2 separate regions of the Homo sapiens genome follow, and region 1 is linked to region 2. The links are contacts of gene promoters, found by promoter capture Hi-C in blood cells and fetal thymus (Javierre and others, 2016). All regions are on one chromosome and are shown on one strand. Each heading gives the region's core, a stretch centred on a gene start or on the middle of the fragment in contact. The rest is flanking DNA. Distances are from core to core; before and after follow the strand shown. Region 1 has its middle 85 kb from the start of UPP2. Region 2 holds the start of ACVR1 (activin A receptor type 1).

What was found. Contacts are between HindIII fragments. The CHiCAGO score rates a contact against its expected background, and 5 or more counts as called.
Region 1: a fragment that was not itself captured here is called in contact with the fragment with the promoter of ACVR1 in region 2 in 1 of 17 cell types (M1 macrophages); the score reaches 5.3 in M1 macrophages.

The regions. Positions count from the first base shown.
Region 1 is chr2:158,014,383-158,018,679 of GRCh38, forward strand. It overlaps a transcript of UPP2 not described here. Among named protein-coding and RNA genes, the nearest start is that of UPP2, 85 kb to the right of the region's middle. The HindIII fragment of the contact is 4,079 bases long and covers 1-3,513 here.
Region 2 is chr2:157,874,869-157,879,324 of GRCh38, forward strand. ACVR1 (activin A receptor type 1) reads right to left here and starts at 1,462. Exons shown (of 11, transcript NM_001111067.4): 1 at 928-1,462. It overlaps LOC105373714 (a long non-coding RNA gene), which reads left to right and starts at 1,716. Exons shown (of 2, transcript XR_923518.3): 1 at 1,716-1,848. RefSeq lists silencers at 934-1,143, 1,234-1,283, 1,294-1,513, 1,574-1,813, 1,834-2,023 and an enhancer at 1,409-1,703. The HindIII fragment of the contact is 1,597 bases long and covers 781-2,377 here.

The sequences.
Region 1 (4,297 bases), core at 224-2,723, 140 kb after region 2:
AACTGGCCCTGCTGCAGTATTAAGCTGGAAGGTAGTAAATTCTTCTTATGGGCTTCCTTGAATCTGAGCTAAAGCCACAATTTCCTTAATAGTTTTCCAATAGCACTCCATCTCTTATTAAAAAGTACAGTTAATCTGGACCTTCCCTCCCACTCCCCTGTAATGTCAGAAAAGAAATGTGTTTCTGAAAATAAATGCTTCTTTTGCTGCGTGGCTATATTTCTTCAGGACTGTGGTTAGCAAATTGCTGCTGCACAACATAAAACCAAGCAATGAAACATAAGACATATGCCTTCTATAATACACTACTGATTAATACAGCTATTCTCTATCAAAAATACAAAAAGAGCCCCACCCAAATAGAGATCATGCCAACTTCCACCACATCTTCTCCCTCCACCCCATAACAAAACACCCAAATCATTCAGTTTCCTAGGGAAATTTGGTTCTAAGCAACTCTTGAATCACAAATTACTTTTGAAAATGATGCTTATATTCCAAAAGAATCCTTAGATTCTATGGTGATAGATTATTTTGCAATGCCTAGCCATTCTGATATGTAGGAAGCAGAAAACTTGGTCCAGCAACAATAAAGAGAATAAAATTACCTGTATTCCTATCCCATAATACATCTTTTGAGCACAATTTAATTAATCTTCATTATGATCATTAGAGAAACTAACAGATTTAAAATTATAATTAAACAAAAACACACAATGTCAAATTTACCATCTTAACCATTTTAAAGTATACAGTTTAGTAGTGTTAAGTATATTCACATTCTTGTTAAACAGATCTCCAGAACTTTTTATCTTGCACAACTAAAACTCTATACCCATTAAACAACAACTTCCCACTCCCCCTTTCCCAGCTCTTGGCAGCCACCACTCTACTTTCTGTTTCTATGAATTTAACTACTTCAGATACCTCATATAAGTGGAATCATACAGTATTGATCTTTTTTTGTGACTGGCTTATTTCACCTAACATGATATCCTCAAGGTTCAACCATGTTACAGCATGTGACATAATTTCCTTCCTTTTTTAGGCTGAATAATAATCCACTGTATGTATATGCCACATTTTGTTTATCTATTCATCTGTTGTTGGATATCTAGATTGCTTCTATTTCCTAGCTATTGTGAATAGTGCTGCTGTGAACATGGATGTGCAAATATCTCTTTGAGACTCTAGTTATATACGGATGTGGTTTTGCTCTGTGTTCCCACCAAATCTCATCTTGAATTGTAATCTCCACGTGTCAGGGGAGGGGCCTGGCGGGAGGTGACTGAATCATGGGGCAGACTTCCCCCTTGCTGTTCTTGTGATAGTGAGCTCTCACAAGATTTGGTTGTTTGAAAGTGTGTGGCACTTACCCCTTTGCTCTCTGTCTCTCTCTCCTGCTCCACCATGGTAAGATGTGCCTGCTTCCCCTTCAACTTCCACCATGATTGTAAGTGTCCTGAGGCCTCCCAGCCATGCTTCCTGTACAGCCTGTGGAACTGTGAGTCAATTAAACCTCTTTTGTTCATAAATTACCCAGTCTCAGGTAGTTCTTTATAGTGGTATGAAAAAGGACTAACGCATATACCCAGAAGTGAAATTGCTGGGTCATATGGTAATTCTATTTTTAATTTTTTGGAGAACCACCACACTATTTTCCATGGCAGTAGCCCCATTTTGTAATGCCACCAACAGTGCACAAGGGCTCCAGTTTCTCCACATCCTCACTAACACTTGTTTAAAAAAAAAAAAACTAACAGATTTTTTTTTTAAATTACTTTTTCTTGATGTCAATTAAGAAAATATTTCTAAATTGTCCCATTTCATTAAGACTGTCTTTTAGTGCCCATTGTGTTTATTGAATACTTTATAGGGATCAAGTTGTCTCATAAAGGGCTCACCTTTCATAGAGGTTTATGGATGACTTATATTAGCAAAAAAAATTCTTGTGAATTAGATGATTTTTTTTTTTGAGACAGAATTTCGCTCATGTTGCCCAGGCTGGAGTGCAATGGTGCTATCTCAGCTCACTGCAACCTCCACCTCCTGGGTTCAAGCGATTCTCCTGCCTCAGCCTCCCAAGTGGCTGGGATTATAGACACCCGCCACCAAACCCAGCTAATTTTTGTATTTTTAGTAGAGACAGGGCTTCACCATGTTGACCAGGCTGGTTTTGAACTCCTGACCTCAAGTGATCTGCCTGCCTCGGCATCTAAAGTGCTGTATTACAGGTGTCAGCCACTGCACCCAGCCCTGGGTCTAGGTTTTGATCACCCTAGACCATCCCGTCTTCCTCTGGAATTTGAACTTGAGATTTGTTCAAGCAACCTTGATGATTGTTAATCCTTTTCTATAATCCTGGAGAGATACGGAGGATTTCTCAATAATTAAGTGTTGAGAGGGCCCTTTTCTGTCCCCACCCCACAAGCAGAATCAGGTGGTTAATGTTTCAGGCACAGGTCAAATCCTCAATTTTTCCCTCTGAACAAAAAAGAAAGCCAAGGAAGAATTGGTGACTTGATTTTGTAACTGCTCATTACAGGGCCATCTATGCTTTTTAGCATGCAGCATCTTAATAAGCCAAGATACTATAGCAGAGGGTCCATAACTAATCTACTGTAATAAATAAAAGGAATGGGAGTGGTACTAGCATATTCTATGGATATAATGTGCAGTTTGCAAAGTGTGACATTTTAAATAAACTTTATTCTTGAGGTATTTAAAAAAACATAAAGGCAGTAATGAAATATAGTGCACAACATTAGTTGACACAGCAATTCCTGCCTCTTAAGACCCTGTTAAATAACCAGAGCTTAAATCTTCATCTTGAAATATACAGCTCTTCTATGATTTTAAGTGAGTTGTAAAACTTTTATGGAGTGTGTCCTAACTTTATTTTAAAAATAGTCTCCACTTTTATAGCAAAGGTGACCCAGAGGTACCTTGTGAATAATAGAACAACATATTTAAGCCATAAATTTACCTTTCTGGGCAATACAGAAGTCATCTTAGTACTTATATCTCTCCTGGAAGGAAGCAGCAGCAAGCAGGAGCAGGGATGCATCTTGAAATGGCTATTTACCCAAAACTTACAGATTTTAACTCTAGAAGTAACTAAGTTTTACCTCAAATGGGCACACTTAACATTTCTGCTACCAAGTTGAAACAAGGATTCAAAAGTTAAAGCTAGGTATTATAGAAACATAAAGTCAAATCTTTGCATAGCTGAGTGTTGAAACTGGGAAAAGTTCATACTCTCAGTATCTGGTTTATGTAGTTATTCGTTTTTGGGCATACAACTCTGTAAGCTGATGTGGGCCTGTGGGATGAGTTCATTCCCATATAGGGGGAACCAAATTTGACTCCAAAACTAATTAAGATGTTCAAGTGCTTTTTACTTATGGCCAAAATTTCACTGGGTTGCAATTCTTCGATTATATCAAACTCTTGTACATTTTTCAATGAAGCACAAACAATTCATTTTCTATTATTCTTTGTTTCTTCTTTTTAAGCTTATATACTTTGAAAATAGTTGTATAGTTGTAGTCTATTAAATATATGTCATATATATATGCATACACAATGAATACAGTTTGGTCTTTACCTTAACACTGTATGTGAAGCCTCATTTGGATGTAATGATAATTAATGTTTTAAAAATGAGAAAACCACTGACTTAGGCATTTCTTCTCTTTCCCACTGAAGACACATAGAATAACTAGATGATATCATAACCAATGAAAATCATTTACTAAACAGCCTCTCGTATGTGGTGTCATAGTAAGCATTATCCAAAGGACACTAGTTTTAGTGACTAAATAAAAGCTCCGCTTCCTGTGATATCCCAAGAAATAGCTACTTGCAAAAATATCTAGTAAGGGTGCACTTGTTTACAGAATTCAGAAGTCTTATTAAGACGGTTTGGATTATGCTAATATTCTCTGTTCCAATATTTATAGAGGGCAGTGAACCTGGCACTGTGTCTTTTTTTCTTATTAGGAATTCACTGAATGCAAGTGAGCATTAGCTTCCTTTTTACCTGTACCCATTGTTCCTCCCTTCTCTTCTCTCTCTCCTCCTCCCTTTTCTCTCAGCTCCCATCCTTCTTCTAAGGGAGGGGCCCAAGGGCAGGGTCGACCAAGTGGGTGCAGAAGAGCAGGCTGCAAGGCTGGAAGGCAGGTGCATGGCTGTTTCCCAGGTGGCAGTGGGGGAAGGGGGCTGCATAATCTCTCTATTTGGAAAGCAGGTAGGGAGAGAGGACAGCTACCTGTTACTTTAGGCCATGTTAGGTGAA
Region 2 (4,456 bases), core at 212-2,711:
TGCCTCTCTCCAAAAGCCAAATTCATGACAACTTTTTAACCAAGACTTTTCTTCTGTTACTAAGTGGAACGTTTTCTTCTCTAAGTAGCTTTTCTCCCATGCAAGCAGCGTTCAAATCTCCAGGGGAAAGGAGGGGTGGGGAGGGGGTGGGAGACTATCTGGCACAAACTGGACAGAGCCGAGCCAGTCTAGAACCCGACGGAAGTTACTGAATCCAGCGGCCCCAGAGGCCCACATCTCTTCTTAGTGCGCCCGAGGTTCTAGCCTCACTGTTTTGGTTACAGTGTTGAAGGAAGGGTTTTAAACTTGGCAAAGTACCGTGCAACATCTGTAACCACATTTGCCTTCTGGGGATCGGAAGATGAATCCCACATTCCTGGCTTTGAAGCTTTTTGAAACTGCAGCTAGGAAGAACCGAGGGAGGGAGGGAGTTGAGCAGAGTTTATTGGCTGTCTCTCCAGCAGAAAATTCCTCTTGGAAGAGATGGATATTTTGAGGGTGGGGGAAATTCGCCTATCTATCTCCTTACTCTCTACAAGCTCAGCTAGGAAGGTAAGCCCCGTGGCCCCGCGGCCAGATCGATTTACAAGTCAGAGTCGCACACCCTGAAGGAGTTCACAACACACACACACACACACACGCACTCACACACACCCCAATACAAACCTGAGACCCCCGCTCCACGCCTCTGCCCCCCCACCCCCCATATCCCACCAGCAGTTCAGGCCCAAAGCAAGACAGTTTTGTTCCGCGGCTGCTTCCCCCACGGAGAGGGGATCAAGCTTGGGGGAGAAAGGAATGAAAGCGAGGGGGAGGCACCGCAGACGCCCACCCTGCCACCCCCGATCCCTGCCTCTTCTCCCGCTAGGCTACCTCCTCCCTCAGTCCTCCCGGCTCCAGCAGGCGCGGCCGGCGACCTGCGCTCACCTCGGGTCCCGCCGCGGCCGGGGGCTGAGCCGGGGGAGGCGGAGTGCGAGGCAGCCGGGCGCTGCAGGTCGGCGCGGCGCGGGGCGGCGCGGGGCGGGGCGGGGCGGTGCAGCCGGCGAGGGAGCCCGGAACTCTGCGGGGCCGGGAGCCGGGGGCCGAGGGCCGGCCCAGAGCGGCGGCGGCTGCGGTGGCTGCAGCGGAGCGGTGCGTGGGGCCGGGAGCTTCCCGGCCCTGGGGCCGGCGCGGCTGGCCGAGGAGCAGGCTGGCAGCGGCAGCGGCGGCAGCGGCAGCCACCCGGGGGAAAGAGCCGGGGGAGGGCGGGGAGGCGGGGTGAAGAGGAGGAGGAAGGGGAGGAGGGCGGGCAGAATAAACTTCCCGAGGCGCAGAGGCTCGGGCTGGGAGCACGACCGCGGGCGGGGCGGGCGGACCAGCTGGGCTTGCCCCCGGGGGCGGCGGGGGAGACCGTCACAGAGAGTAGAAAAGTTCCCCCTGCGCCGAGGGGGAGGCTGCGGCGGCGGCGGCGGCTGCAAAGAGCAGGAGCCGGAGCGGGAGGAGCGGGAGGAGGAGGAGGAGGAAGTGGCTGCGGAGCGCTCGGCCAATGAGTGTCTGGAGCTGTGATTAACCAGGCAGCAACACATCATTTCCTCCCGGCGCGGATCCAGGGAGCCGGGAGGGGAGAGAGGAGGCGGCGGGGCGGGGCCGTCCCCGCGCCCCCTGCAGGCGCCCGGCCGAGGGCGAGCCCGCCGAGCCCCGCCGAGCCTGACCGCGCCGCCCCCGGCGCGCCTGGCGCTGTCTGGCCGGTCGCTTGGCCCGGGTGGAAGCTATGAGCGCGCCGCCAGCGGGGCTCCTCGGAGGCGGCGGGGCAGGCCCGAGCTGGGCTCCTGTGGCCGGGGTGGGAGGAGAAGAGGCCGCGCGGCACGGGTGAGTGCCCAGGTAGGCGCGGGCGGGGCCGTCTGGACAGCTCCCGAGGGCGCGCGGGGCAGGCGGGCGGACGGGCGGGCATCCCGGGCCCGGCGACTGCGGGCGGCCACCTACTCGAGCCCTGCATGTCAGACTTGGGCTGGATTCTCAGAGAGAAGCCTTAGCATTCTCATCCAGGCCATCTCTGACCTGCCTTCAGATCCCCTTCCACTTTGCTCATTTCCTTGCAAGGTCTAGGGTTATGACAGAGCTTGCCATGTTCGCCTTTGGCTTCCTTAGTAACAGAAATAAGCATGGAGGGGCTTCTGCAGTGATCTAGCCCTGTCCTAGGCGCCATGGGAGCTTACAGTGGAAATGCAGGAACATTCTCCGCTGCAGAGAGTCTGATAACCTCGGTCCTTAGATACACAAAAACACCCCAGTGTGCTAATATTACCCAGAGCATCAAAAAGGCATGCAAGGATCAAATTTTGCATGGTTCCTGCTGAGTGTAAAGGAAAGCACTAAGCCATTTTCTCTGCCCTCTAGAAGCTTATAATGTACAGTCCTATCACAAAGCAGAATAAAAACATGAAACCTATAAATGGGAATGCCATAAAGTATTTTTATCTCTACAGGTTCATTCATGCAGAGGGCATTTATTGGGTGACTGCAGTACTGCAAAAGGTTGCAAAGGAAATGGAAGATCTGGTCCCTGCAGGTTGGGAGTTTACAATCTAATTAGAAATACAAGGCATATATACGTGAAAAAACTAGAATCCCCAGCTGTAAGCAAAAGGATGGAGTAGGTGGGAGCATTTTTTTCATAAAGAGAGCTTTGTACCTGTATGATTGGTGAGGAGCAGGAGAGGCAAGTTCAGTACCAATCAAGGCAAGAGCACCTATATGTATCCCTGCTCTATAGAATGATGTAACAGGGCCCTCATTGTCACTTGGCTGAAGTGTCAGCTCTGCCACTTACAAACTGTTTTGAACTGGGGCACATTTTTAACCTAAGAAGGGAATACAGGTTGTCTCGTGAGGTGGTTGTGCAGTTCAAATGAGATTACAAACGTGAAAGCTTGTGAAGCTCAATGATGTACATTCATGGAGTCCTCATTGTACAAACTGGCCCTTCTTGGTAACCTTTAGAGTTCCCTCCCAGGCTGTAAGCTGCAAGAGGGCAGGGACCAGGTCTGATTGTATTCATCATGTATCACAATGTTTAGCAGAAGGGTTCATGTGGGTGTTCAATAAAGTTTTGCTGAGTAGGTAAATAAATGAATTAATGAATCCTGTTATGCTCTGAACAGTTCCTATTATTTGTTCCTTAAGCAGTTCCTTCAATAGTGGTCTTATTGTATGGCTGGCTCAGTGAAAAACACTCTAACTCAACCTCCTGTGACTTACTAGTGTGCCAGGAGACTGGGAGAATTCTGGATGGTACTGTCAGAGGCATTCAAACCAGAGAAACTCCATTTTGAATGAGGGCTAGGAAAATGAGACTGAGACTGGCTGGGCTGCATTCTCGGGAAGTTAGGCTTTCTTAGCCTCTAGATGTTTACAGCTAAGGGAACAAATTAATAGTGTTTACTAAACAAACCCAGACTTGGGAGTGTCCAGATATCCCGATATCTGGAGAACAAAGGCATTCCTAATTTTGCTTTAAAGATAATATTGATTCTTGCAAAATATAGTAATTTATTTATTTATCACAAACTCTTGTAGCAGAGCACATCTCCCTATATATACGAGCGATGTACCTAGCATGGAATCGTTCCTCCTCTTACTTTCGGCAACATCCTACTTTGTCTATGGAGTAGGTGTCCTTTCACCACTTTGCTTTCTTAATAAACTGGCTTTTACTTTACACTGCGGACTCGCCCTGAATTCTTTCTTGCGTGAGATCCAAGAACCCTCTCTTGGGGTCTGGATTGGGACCCCTGCCCTAAAACATATTCCTGGCAACCACAGAAGGGACTTTAGTGCAGAAACCCTGACCCAACGGCTACCTTTGGGTAAGTGTTGGGGTCCTGTAACAGTACTTGTGGCCTTTCGACATAAAGTGTGTGTGTGTGTGTGTGTGTGTGTGTGTGTGTGTGTAAAGCAAGAGGCAAAAGGCTCCTCCACTCCTCCAGCAGGATACAGCCTTCCACACAAGCCCTGTGCACACAAGGATACAGCCCTTTGGCTTGGACACCTTAATCCGGGGTTTCTCAACCTTAGCACTATTGACATTTTTGGCTGGGTAATTGTTGTGAATGCTGTCCTGTGCATTGTAAGATGTTTAGCAGCATCCTTGACCTCTACTTACTAACTGCCAGAACACCCTCCCGCCACAGTTGTGACAACCAAAAATGTCTCCAGACAGTGCCAAATATTTTCTGGGAGGGGGTGCCAAACTACCTCCTGTTGAGAACCACAACCTTACTCTAATTCATTGATTGAACTCTGGTGGAAAATCACACCAGTAAAGTTACTTGGAGGAAATATATCTTCTGTTATTCTAAGATTTTCAGATCTCCTCAATCATATGTTTCAAGGAGCACGACTCTTGCTAATTAATTGCCTGCTGCATTGTGAATTGGCATCTCTTCTGTTTTCTGCATATCCTCCTCCTTTACGCCCA